4 separate regions of the Homo sapiens genome follow, and regions 1, 3 and 4 are each linked to region 2. Evidence: promoter capture Hi-C in 16 types of primary human blood cells and fetal thymus (Javierre and others, 2016). All regions are on one chromosome and are shown on one strand. The core of a region is centred on a gene start or on the middle of the fragment in contact, and the rest is flanking DNA. Distances in the headings are between cores, read along the strand shown.

What was found. The method cuts DNA at HindIII sites, captures the fragments that hold promoters and counts their contacts. A CHiCAGO score of 5 or more calls a contact.
Region 1: a contact is called between a fragment that was not itself captured here and the fragment with the promoter of PTPRM in region 2, in 1 of 17 cell types (monocytes). The highest score is 6.1, in monocytes.
Region 3: a fragment that was not itself captured here is called in contact with the fragment with the promoter of PTPRM in region 2 in 6 of 17 cell types (endothelial precursors, megakaryocytes, M2 macrophages and 3 more); the score reaches 8.6 in endothelial precursors.
Region 4: a fragment that was not itself captured here is called in contact with the fragment with the promoter of PTPRM in region 2 in 6 of 17 cell types (endothelial precursors, M2 macrophages, M0 macrophages and 3 more); the score reaches 12.1 in endothelial precursors.

What each region holds. Positions count from the first base shown.
Region 1 is chr18:7,222,111-7,225,085 of GRCh38, reverse strand. No RefSeq gene overlaps it. Among named protein-coding and RNA genes, the nearest start is that of LRRC30, 7.5 kb to the left of the region's middle. The HindIII fragment of the contact is 5,629 bases long and covers 1-2,975 here.
Region 2 is chr18:7,565,740-7,568,761 of GRCh38, reverse strand. PTPRM (protein tyrosine phosphatase receptor type M) reads right to left here and starts at 1,446. Exons shown (of 33, transcript NM_001105244.2): 1 at 871-1,446. The coding sequence starts at 943. RefSeq lists a silencer at 1,396-1,765. The HindIII fragment of the contact is 6,488 bases long and covers 1-3,022 here.
Region 3 is chr18:7,261,638-7,265,093 of GRCh38, reverse strand. LOC105371973 (a long non-coding RNA gene) reads left to right here. Exons shown (of 4, transcript XR_935118.2): 2 at 1,551-1,682. Among named protein-coding and RNA genes, the nearest start is that of LRRC30, 32 kb to the right of the region's middle. The HindIII fragment of the contact is 8,400 bases long and covers 1-3,456 here.
Region 4 is chr18:7,279,762-7,282,809 of GRCh38, reverse strand. No RefSeq gene overlaps it. Among named protein-coding and RNA genes, the nearest start is that of LRRC30, 50 kb to the right of the region's middle. The HindIII fragment of the contact is 771 bases long and covers 1,033-1,803 here.

The DNA.
Region 1 (2,975 bases), core at 65-2,564, 340 kb after region 2:
CTCAATCAGCTATTCCAAGGGGCAAACATGCTTCTCTAGAGTGCAACACGCTTAGAGGCAGGTTCTTAGAGAGAGATCCGAATTGAAATGCTTCCCTCTGAAAGTCAAGATCCTCTTTGGAGATCATTTGTCCTCAGTTTGTTTACTCTCACTCTGTTCATTCAGCTCACATTTGCTGTCAGGCCAATTCTATTTCAAACCCCTTGTCTCCCTCAGAGCCCTGGAATAATCCCGAGGACACAGTAGGCACTCAATCAATGTTCATTGAAATGAACAAACATTTGGGCCCTGATGGAAGTTTCAGGTGAGAAAAGAACAATGAAGAGAGCCTTGAATATCCTGCTTGTTTTTAATTGCTTCTGTGTTACTCTATTTGTATATTTATCTGCTTACAAGTCCCTCCAGAGGACTCTGCATACATCCTGTTCACGGCTGACCACAGGATCCCTGGTTTGACCTCCATCACAGCAGCTCACTGAAAAAAGTTTTGTCAGACAAGCCAAGCCTCTTTTATCTTTAAGAGAAGACCTCAGCACCTTCTCCAGGGGTTGCAGTGAGCTGAGATCGTGCCAGTGCACTCTAGCCTGGCTACACAGCAAGACTCCATCTCAAGGCAAAAAGAAAAAAGAAAAAAAGAAGACCTCAGCACCTGCACCTTCTCAGGGAATCTGCTCGGCCCTGCTACGCCCTCCTCTGTAAGTGGGGATAATTGTGCCTCCTTTGTATAGGCCTATTGTGAGGATTAAATGGAATGACACAGGTAAAGCAAGTAGCTCAGCACAAAAGGGTCCTGATGCCATGTTACCAGCCACAGTAATCCATCCTTCCCATTGTGGCCAGAATGTTCTAGAAGACTGTTCCCATCAACCCACTGCTTATGGACCATCCACTGACACACCTGTGCCCACAAGCTGTCCATGCAGACCATAGTTGCATGCATGTTTGCATCACAACCTCACGCCTCACCGTTCACCTCTAACACACCTACTTGATATCCCAGAAGTACTGAGGTAGCAGCTGGCTCCCCTACACATGCCTTGGCATTTTGTAATGCCACTCCTTTGTTCATGCTGATCCTTTGCTCCACATGGCTCACACCCTTCATGTTTCCACATAAGAACAGTGCCCCCTCCTCAAGGAAGCCTTCCCTGACCACCCACCTTCCTCTAGGGCCATCTGGGCATCCTTCCTTACTTCCCAGAGCGTCCTAGACTTACCTTTGTCACAACACTACCACCTCAGATCTCAACTGGACCAATTTTGCCCCTCATGGGATGTGTGACAATATCTGGAGATATGTTTGGTCATCAACTGTGCAGGTGGTACTACCGATGTCTAGTGAGTAGAGGCCAGTGATGCTGCAAACGTCTTACAGATCAGGACAGCCTCCACAACGAAGAATTATCCAGCCTACAATCTCAATAGTGCAGGGCTTAATAAACACTACCATATGCCAGGAGTGGTGGCTCACGCCTGTAATCCCAGCACTTTGGGAGACGAGGCGGGCAGATCACCTAAGGTCAGGAATTCGAGACAAGCCTGACCAACATGGTGAAACCCTGTCTCTTCTAAAAATACAAAATTAACTGGGCGTGGTGGTGCATGCCTATAATCCCAGCTACTCTGGAGGCTGAGGCAAGAGAAGCTCTTGAACCTGGGAGGCGGAGGTTGTAGTGAGCCAAGATCGAGCCATTGCACTCCAGCCTGGGCAACAAATGAAACTCCATCTCAAGGAAAAAAAAAAAAAATATATATATATATATATATAGAAATCATCAGCTTTTGTGCCAGTCTCCTCCATTAGAGTATAAATACATTTCTTAAGGCTGGAGCTAAATCTTATTCATCATCATTTGTTCTCCTTGAGCCTAGGATGTTGCCTCATATGTGGTACCTATTCAATGAGCCCTGGTTTCTCCCCACTGTATCCTCTTATTTATGAATCAAACCTACTCTATTTTGAGAGGCTTACTGACTCTCTATCCTACTATGTGACCCATATGACCAGAAACATAAATAAAATTGCCTTGCTTGTCAACTGGTATCAGACTTCTATTTATCCAGAATTACACTGCTGACATTATTCATTCAGGGAAAGAGAACCTACAAGCAAGGCCATTTCATCTCTTTGAAATCCGAATGTCAATAGCTCTTGCCTGTCACCGAACAAGATACAGAAATTACAGGACTGGTACAACTCTAAGAAAACACTGAGTCTACTTTTGCTGGCCAGCTGCATTTTATTAAATCATCTCAGCAAATTCAAATTTAGCTTTTTAAAAAGCTACTTCTAGAAAGACAGTCATTTTGTTATTTTGCATATTTTCCTCTCAGGAAATCCATTTACTGGGCTAACCCTAGCCTTCAGGTATCAGTTTTCCTTGCATCTTCTTGTTTGTCTTCAATGGAGCTGGGTAACCAGTGAAGGCTTTTATAGTCCTGTTCGTTCAGTCCTAATCCATCAAAGTACACTTCATGCTTTACAGCACTAAAGGAAAGGCGAAATAAAGAGATGCTTTGATTAAAAGTCGAGAGAGTAATTAAATACCAATTCAGCCTTCTGCATATTAAGTTTATATCAGAAAGCAAGGTCATGAATTTAAGAGCAATGAGATTCTATATAATATCTGCATAACAAAGTAGCAGAGCTTTATTAAAGATCAAGTCTCTTTTTAAGAAGTTTTAAATTATTGTGACATTTCAGGATAATAAATTGATAAATGGCTAAAAACAAAAAAAAGCAAGAAGAGACACTAAGTTCAGTCAAGTGAAATATCTGAGATCCAGGCCTCTCTGATAAAAAGTTTAAAATATGCATAGTGTGTATATAACTTATCTGTTTAATAAATTATAAATTTGAATCTTATTTAAAACTCCCCAAACTACTTACTACTGTTTTAATTTCAGATTTGGTCTAGACTATCTTAACAAAAATAAATTTTTCCTCTTCATTGAATTGGTGAGGAAAAGTTAAA
Region 2 (3,022 bases), core at 197-2,696:
GGCTTAGAACGCCCCCGCGCGCGCGTGCAGGCACACACGCGCACACACTCACACGCTTGCTCGCACACCGCCAGTGCCTCTCCTTCCCACCTGGGACCCCCGGGCAGCCGGGCTGGATGAACAAGTTGCAGCTGGCCGCGGCGCTCCGCTAGGGGGACGAGGGTGGGGAGGGGGAGCCCAGCGGGGCGCAGGGCCGTGGCCAGGGCCTGGGGACCTGCCCGCTTCCCTCCGCGGCCGCCAAGCCCTACCGCTGGGACCGGCGAGGAACTCCCCCCAGCCTCTCCGCAGACGCTGCACGACCGCGGGGACCTCCCGGGGTCGCCAGCCGCGCCGGGCAGGGGGCGACAGGGAGGGCAGGGCACCGGGAGATCGCCGCCGCCGGAGCGGCCGCCAGTTCCCGGCGATCGCTGCGGGCGCAGCCGAACACCAGCGGCCTGGGCCCGGCCGCTGCTCGGGGTCGGCGGGGACCGCGCAGCGCCTACGCCAGGCGGCCCGGCGGCTGCAACTGGGAACTTCAAGCAAAGTTTTCTGCTGTTCCTTTTGCAGCCGGCCAGGGACTCAAGAGTGCAAGCCGCCCAACCTTGAGCACTAGCCCAGGCCGCGGAAGGACGGCGGCCGAGCTGGCAGTCCCGGCTGGGGAGCTCGCCCTCGGGGTCCGTCCGCTCCGCCCGCCCGAGGACTGGGTGCCTGCCAGCCCCACGGCCCCTCGCCCAGCGCCCGGCTCACAGGCAGAAGCGGTGTCCGGCCCGCCGCGCCCCCCGCCCGGCCCCGACGCCAGCCTTAGGGCTCTACCACCAGGGAGCTGTCGGCGTCCCGGGCGTCCCGCGCCGGCCCGCGCGCCTCGGGGGCGGCAGAGGCGGTCCCGCTTACCTGAGAACGTCTCGCCCGCCGCAGTTAGCAAAAGTCCGGCCAAAGTCGCCAGGCAAGTCCCAAGTCCCCTCATGGTGCTGAGTGCGGGCCGGGCCGCTCCCCGGCGGCGGTGGGTGGGCGCGCGAGGGCGGAGGGGGCCGGGAGCTTTGGTTCCGAGGCAGCGAGGAGAGACGGGTAAACAGCAGAGCGCTAAGCCAAGCCCCCAAAGTGCCAACAGTTGCAGAAGTCCGAACTCCAGCGGCTCCAGGGGCGCGGGCACAGGGTCCTGGGTCCTCCTCCCCTGTCCCTGGCCCCACTCGGCGTCTGGCGCCGCTGGCAGAGGGAGCGGAGGGCGAGCCCGCGGAGCCAAAATCTTCCCTCGGTTCCGGTTGCTGAGCTCGCCGCCTCTCCCCTTCCCCTGCCCGGGACCCGGGACCCGAGCTGCCGGCCGTGGCCGTGGCGGTGGCCGTGGCCGTGGCCGCGCGCGTTCCGCCCGCCGCCTCTCCACAGGCAGCCCCAAGCCCAGCCCCGGGCGGCGGCGCGCCGATGACCGAGCCCGCGCCGGCTGCGCGCGGGGCTCTTGCTCCCCGACTGACTGGCGGTGCCCCGCAGGCCGGCTGAAGGGAGCGCTCACGTCACGGCCGCCCGGCGCCGCCGCGGCCCGCTAGAGGGCGTGAGCGCCCGTGCCCCGCCGGCCCGCGCCCGAGCGCCTCCGGGAGCTCGGCTGGGGGCGGCCCCGCGGCCACAGCCACTACCGCCGCCGAAGCGGGCGTCAGCCGCGCGGGGAGGAGCGGCCACCGGGCTCCCCCCGCCCACCTCCTCGCCCCGGCCGCGTCTTCTATTTTGGTAGCTGGCTCTGGGGAGGGTGACTGTGGAAGAGGCTGCGCCGCCGCCAGAAGTTTGTCCCGGGTCACGAGCCGCGAGTAGTTTGTGAGCGCGGCCGGGCGGGACCAGCGGCCTGCGACCCCGCGGGCGCGGCCAGGCGGCTTCGAGCCTGGCGCCGGACGGCGATGTCACCGCACAGGGCCAGCTGCACCCGGAGTCGCCGGGCCTGCGCTGCTCGGCGGCTGCGGGAAAAGCGAGCCAGGAGATCGCTGAGGCTCCGGAGGGCTGCGAGCTTCTCTACGCCGCGGGCGGAGCGAAGTTGGCGGGCGCCGGGAGATGGCGCGGGAGCCGGGAGCGCCGAGCCCCGCGATCGCCAGCCCGCTCCCGGCCGGGCCCGCCGGGTACACGCCGCTGGCCCCGAGCACTGGCGCCCGGGAAGCAGGGCGCGCTTCTGCTGTTCTGCGTCCTCATCATGCCTCGGTGTCCCGTGTGGGCCCGAAGCGAGCCGCAGGCAGTACACGGAAGGCGGTGGTCACACCAAAACCAGGGTTTGGACATAACCCGTGGTTTCTGTATCTGGTGCAAAGTGCTGAGAAACAGGGGAGAAAGAGAAGTGGGGGGTGAATCAAGTAATGTCTTGAAATATTTTAGTTTTACGATTTTGGGTCTGAGTGAATTAAAAAAACCTTACAATGCTTCAGCAAAAAATAATTTTTTTATTTTAATTGTAAATTTTTTTGTAAGTGATCCTTCTATCTTCCAGGGAATAAGCACATTGAGCCAGCACCAACCAGACAGCTGTAAGCTCCTGGCCTAGCTAACTGAACGCAATAGAAGGCTTGGGAAGAGGTTAAATTAGGAACCAAAGTAACTGAGTGACAGGGTTCTAGCAATGATTCTGGCTAGAAGGCAAACCGGTGATACAGAGGCACCCAGGAGCTCTCCTGCACTTTTTCCGCAAGAGGGGTCCTCTGCTTAGTGCTCACTGCTTTCTAGTGCTTATAAACACGTAAAAAAATAAATGGATTCCACACTCATCTTGACCCTGTTCTCCACTGTACACCAGAACCAAGAAAGATACAGCTGTCATCCTCCCAAGGCAAATTTGGGGACTAGAAGACTTGCCTTTAGTGTGGCAACCAACACTCCTCTTACTTCAGGAAGTCCACTTACTAGATACTTACCAGACCTGCTCTTTAGAAGTCTCTATATTAATCATTTGCTTGTTAATATGAGCTTACATTGTCCTGCCACTTCTCCCAACTATGTGCTTATGGAACCTTATCTTTAATTGTGAAATGAACATTGAAATCTCAGAAAGGAAGCAATGTCTTCAAGATCAGCAAGT
Region 3 (3,456 bases), core at 138-2,637, 300 kb after region 2:
CTCCTGCCTCAGCCTCCCGAGTAGCTGGGACTACAGGCGCCCACCACTACGCCGTGCTAATTTTTTGTATTTTTAGTAGATACGGGGTTTCACCATGTTAGCCAGGATGGTCTCGATCTCCTGACCTCGTGATCCGCCTGCCTTGGCCTCCCAAAGGGCTGGGATTACAGGCGTGAGCCACCGCGCCCGGCCTGGGTCTTGTTTTCTTGATCCTCAGAATTCAAAAATATAACCACTTCTCGTGTCATTGATGTCTCATCCTGGTAACCTCCTTCTAATTGCACTCAGGTCGTTTTTTCAGCCTAGGCTCAGGAAAGGCCCAACCACCCCCATATCCACCTCACCCTCACCCTCCCACCATGATGTCTTTGGTGACCATTCCATCCATCTGTTCTACTTGACTTTCTTCCTGGGGAACAGCCCTAACTTCTTTCTGTCTCTGTTCCTCCTTTTATGCGTGTTCACTGTTCACCAGATGCCATATGTCATGCTGAATTCCCATATATATTTGTTGCTGTCCCAACTGTGGTACTCTGAGGAGATATTGTTATCCCTGCACTGCAGATGGAAGCCTTGCCCAGGTCCGCACATGTTGTAAGTGCTGGGGTTGAGCTTCAAGTCTGCGTGAGACACTGAATCTCATGCCCTTTCACCCCAATGCTGTATTTTCTTTTTTTCTGTCCATCCCACCATTTCCACGTGATTTCCTTTCCTCTCCATTCTCAGAGAGAGTCTCAGGTTTGTCTCCCTCACTAAGGATCAGATTTTCCAAGGTGTCATTTCTGATTTACCATCCCCACATGGATTAATTCAGCATTGAATTTCTCGTTTCCTTTAATACTTTCTTATTTTACTTATCTCGATTTTCTTTATCTGGGCTGCTTCCATATCAGTCTATTCTCCCTTTGACATTTTGTTCCATTTCAAAAAGGCAATTTGATTTTTTATCTAAGGATGATCATTGTTTCCTAAAATGTGTTTTAGGTTTTTTTTTTTTTTTTTTTTAGAAAAACATTGTTTCCAGTGAAATTTTAGCACGAGGCTGACTTTATCAGGACCATATGATTTTTTCAAAGACTACTCCTTTTTCTTGTTTCCTTGTCCAAGAAGGCAGAGCTCTACCCAGCACAAGAGAACAAGCACACTGTGTGTCCCCACCCCCACCCTTCCCAAGTGGCTGTCCCAGGAAGAGCTGGGGGACACACACAACTTTTCTGTCACTAGGAAGCCTACTGCTGGAATGTCTTTGCTAATCTATGAAGGGAGCTTTTCCTGTCTTTGCTGTCTGACCTTCTGACCCTTTGTAAAATTTGAGGATCTGAGAAATAACAACCTTGCAGCTGCCTAGACGCCAAGGCTCTTCCGGACTCTGTCCCCATTCATGGTGCTTTATTTGGGCCACTACACTACCCAGAACGAGCCTCCTCCAGAAGCTCCAGAATTATCTAGCTCAATCTAACAGCAGAAGTAGCTATCTGGGGAGGACGAATCTGACTGTGTCAAAAAGTAGCACCTAGAGAGTCGAGGCATGACATGTTCTGGTTTTACAGTTGATGAGGCTCTGACCCGGTGTGGAGCATGGAGAGGGATGGAAGCCAGTTGACCCATTCCTGAGGCCAGACCTGCATTGTCCACTGAGTGACATTAGCTCTACAGCTTGTGGAAGGTCTTCCCAAACTCTGGTAAGAGATTGGCTGTCAGTCCTAGTTTTAAGAGTTCCAAATATATTCTTTTCTTATAAATGGGCATTGAGGGAGACTGAATCAGGAGCTGCTAGCCAGGTGACCTTTTAAATTAGAAATCTTAGGCCAGGCGCAGTGGCTCATGTTTGTAATCACAGCACTTTGGAGGCCAAGGAGGGCGGATCACTGGAGGTCAGGAGTTCGAGACCAGCCTGGCCAAAATGGTGAAACCCTATCTCTACTAAAACTATAAAAAAAAATAGCAGGGCATGGTGGCACATGCCTGTAGTCCCAGCTACTTGGGAGGCTGAGACAGGAGAATCTCTTGAACCCAGAGGCAGAGGTTGCAGCAAGCCAAGATTACACCACTGCACTCTAGCCTGGGCAACAGAGCTAGACTCCATCTCAAAAAAAAAAAAAAAAGGCTGGGTGCCATGGCTCATGCCTGTAGTCCCAGCACTTTGGGAGGCTGAGGTGGGCAGATCATGAGGTCAGGAGTTTGAGACCAGCCTGGCCAACATGGTGAAACCCCGTCTCTACTAAAGATATAAAAAATTAGCCAGGCATGGTGGCACATGCCTGTATTCCCAGCTACTCGGGCGGCTGAGGCAGGAGAATCACTTGAATCCGGGAGGCGGAGGTTGCAGTGAGCCGAGATTGCAACATTGCACTCCAGCCTGGGTGACAGGGCAAGACTCCATTTCAAAAACAAAACAAAACAAAATTAGAAACCTTAGGCCAGGTGCGGTTGCTCATGCCTGTAATCCCAGCACTTTGGTAGGCAGAGGTGGGAGGATTGCTTGACCCCAGAAGTTCGAGGCCAGCTTGGGCAATCTGGTGAGACCCCGTCTCTACAAAAAACTTAAAAATTACCTGGGTGTGGTGGCACACACCTTTAGTCCAAGCTACTTGGGAGGCTGAGGCAGGAGGATTGCTTGAGCCCAGGAGTTAGAAGTTACAGTGAGCTATGATCATGCCACCACGTTCCATCCTGAGTGACAGAGTGAGACTCTTGTCTCTAAATTTAAAAAATAATAATAATAACAAAATAAAATAAAAAATAAATTAGAAACCCTCTGACATTTTCCTTCCTCCAACATAAAATATCACTGAATCACTGGATAACTTCAAGATAACATTGAAAGTTTTAACTATCTAATCAATAAATGGATAAAAGGGAATGATAATGATGTCCTCAATGTGCCTACTGCACTGTATGACTATTCAGTCTTAGCCTATCCATAGCTGGGACACCCACTTTGTAAAGCAAATCCAGGGACAACCTAATGTTGTGCTTCTCTTGTTCCTGGCCCTTCTCAAGATTCCAGGATGACCCATTCAAAACTCAGAAACCTCTGCTTAACAAGAAGACCCTCATCCTGGCACTACAGCACTAAAATCAAGCACTGTTCCAGAGACCACACCAAGCTCCCCTCTGAGGACCATGTTAAGTCTAGCGGGAACAGGGACCTGAAGATTCCCTATATCCCCCAGTGTAACTGGGTTCATTCAAGATATCTGAGTATTGGGTGGGGAGTGAGGTTATAGGAAGTAGCAGAACTCCTCACTGGATTTTTTATTTGAGTTAAATGCATTATTTCAACAACAATAACACCAAAACTTCTCAACTGCTGAGAGGACCAGTTGTGACAATGAGCTACTACTTAAAAATCTGCAAGGTTTTATTGTCAGTTTCAGCAGCTCTTATCAAACATTCTGGATACTTAAAACCAAATGATGAGGTCTGGCTGGCCTGGGCCTTCACTGCTGCCTG
Region 4 (3,048 bases), core at 169-2,668, 290 kb after region 2:
TCTCTAGCACAGGTGTGGCAAACGAGATTGCTGCATTGGCTGTCCAGCATTTATCCTCTCTTGCTTTTTCTTTTTCATTCAGGCATTGACCATTTCCTATACAGTCCAGGAGCTTCAGGGAGAGTGTATACCTTCCCCATTTCCTGATTGGCTTAAGTCAATGAGCACATCCCATCCTAGAGAAAGTGTTTAAAAATGGACATATGACCCAATGTGGGGACAATGAGATTGGTATGTCTGAGAAAGAATCTCCTCTCTGCTTCTGAGAAACCCAGTGGAAGGAAAATTAGCTCTGGACAGTATAGGGTAAGGCTGTGATGTCCCATCCTATTTTAGGTGACATGAAATTTTGCAGGTTGATCTGGAAGCCTAACCAACGTGTATATCTATTTTTTTTTTTTTGAGTCTTGCTCTGTCACACAGGCTGGAGTGCAGTGGCGCAGTGGCACGATCTTGACTCAATGCAACCTCCGCCTCCTGGGTTCAAGCGATTCCCCTGCCTCAGCTTCCTGAGTAGCTGGGATTACAGGCACCTGTCACCATACCTGGCTAATTTTTTGTATTTTTAGTAGAGACTGAGTTTCACCGTAGTAGCCAGGATGGTCTTGATCTCCTGACTTCATGATCCGCCCGCCCTCGGCCTCCCAAAGTGCTGGGATTACAGGCGTGAGCCACCGTGCCCAGCCATGTATATCATTTTTACAGTAGAACATTTTCCTCTTGGGAAAAACAGTTGACTTCAAATAAACTTTTGGAAACCAACCTGTTCATCAATTGGAGAGTAACAGTGGTAATTTTTGAGTAATAAGAGTCATTGATATGTACCAAAGAAGTGAAGAATATTTTTTACAATATTTCAAAAATTTAAAATGACATTGTGTCCTGAAGTGATATATTAGAATTGAAGGGAATATGACACTCTGATTTAAAAATGCAAGAAACTGAAGTAATTTATGAAGTGCTGGCAGCTAGCTTCACATCCCCTCTCACTGCGTGGGCTTAAAATTACTTTGGAGGCTTTGGTGAGAAGCTTTAGTGCATTGTGTTATGAAAGTACCAGGTTCAGGCTCCAACAGCAGGAAGCAAGCGCTGGCCCAGGTCTTGGGAAGAGATCTGCACAGCCTGGTCTTGACATATATAGAGATTAGGTCTTTTTCAGTCCAATCTTGTCCAAGGAAGGGGCCCTAGAACCTCTGAAGGTTGAGATCCATTTGGATCCAGAATGATCTGAAGGGTCTGCTTTAGCTGTGGGTAATCTTCACACTCACATGATAAAGCAATAAAATAATAATAATAGCCAATGGTTTTAGGGTTCTTTACAGTTTGTAAAGTGCTTTTACATGCATTATCTCATTTGTGCTCAGGATAAGTAGGTCCCTGTTCCAGAGAGCAGCAAGCAGGTCATGGAAGCTCACATGTAGTACAAAGGGTCTCACAGCAGAAAAGGGATCTAACGGGCTTTCCTGACTCACAAACTTAAAACTCAATCTTATGAATGAATCCAGATGCCTCCACCATATCTTGCCTTGTGCTTTACCAAAAAAATTGGGACCACCATGTTGAGTTCCTTTATTTTCCATCTTCTACATTTTGATGTATCCTCACAATCATCTGCACTCTTTCCTTTTTCTCTCATCTTAACTGAATGGAAAGATCACCCCCTACTCCCACCTAAAGCTAATAAGTTTGCCCGTGTTAATCCCTCCTGTATCCTTCCTTAGGTCATCTTTTTGTCTTGTCTCCTGCCTCCTTCCTCTTTGTCTACAATGTGTTGACCTCTGCCCTATACTAACAAACAAAGCTTTTATCTGTGGCCACTAGCCTTACCCTTTTGCTTCCTTCCTTTTCTTTCCTTGCTGTTTAGAAAAAAGCAGTCTCTACCTGCAGCCTCACCAAGAATCCTTCTCCCTTCCCCATATATCCAGTCTCTCCCCAAGAGTTGTCAGCCCACTTTTGTTCCTTTAGATTGATTTCTTCTTCATGCCCCAGAAAACCATCCTAATACAAGCCTTTATTACCTCTGTTATGGGCTAAATTGTGTCTCCCCCAAATTCATATGTTGAAATCCTAACCCCAGTATTTCAGAATGTGACTATATTTGGAGACAGGTCTTTAAAGAGATAATTAAGGTAAAATGAGGTCATACAGGCCAGCCCCCAACAGGTATAACTGATGTCCTTATAAAAAGAGGAGATTAGGACACAGACATGCACAGAGAGAAGACCATGTGAGGACACAGTAAGAAGGCGGCCGTCTACAAGCCAAGGAGAGAGGCCTCAGAAGACACCAATCCTGCCAACGCCTTGACCTCAGACTTCCAGCCTCTAAAACTGTGCAATAGTAAATTTCTGTCATTTAAGCCACTCAGTCTGTGGTACTTTGTTAGGGCAGCCCTAGCCCTCTAGTACACCTAATTAGCTGACTAGCCATTTGTTATGCTCCCAGTTCCTTCCCTTCCAATGACAATGTCCTTCTGCATGACCAAGGACAAGAATAATTTTCCCAAGTTGCCATGTTAACCATGTGATTCCCCTTCTCAAAAAGTTCCAATGGCACCCTTCTTACCTGCATAAGTTTGAAGTGCTTCATCCTGACATTTAAGGTGCCCACAATTTTGCTACCATTGTCCTTTCCAGAATCAGATTCTTTAACATCCTACCTGAACTTTCTGCTTCTTTATTTTATTTTATCTATTTTTTTATTTTTTGAGACGGAGTCTCACTCTGTCACCCAGGCTGGAGTGCAGTGGTGTGATCTCAGCTCACTGCAAGCTCCGCCTCCTGGGTTTACGCCATTCTCCTGCCTCAGCCTCCCGAGTAGCTGTGACTACAGGCACCCACCACCACACCCGGCTAATTTTTTGTATTTTTAGTAGAGACGGGGTTTCACTGTATTAGCCAGGATGGTCTCGATCTCCTGACCTCGTGATCCGCCCGCCTCGGCCTCCCAAAGTGCTGGGATTACAGGCGTGAGCCGCCGCGCCCGGCAACTTTCTGCTTCTTTCATATTCACCTCTGCTTCTTCTGTGCACTTCCCGTCCCCGCCACC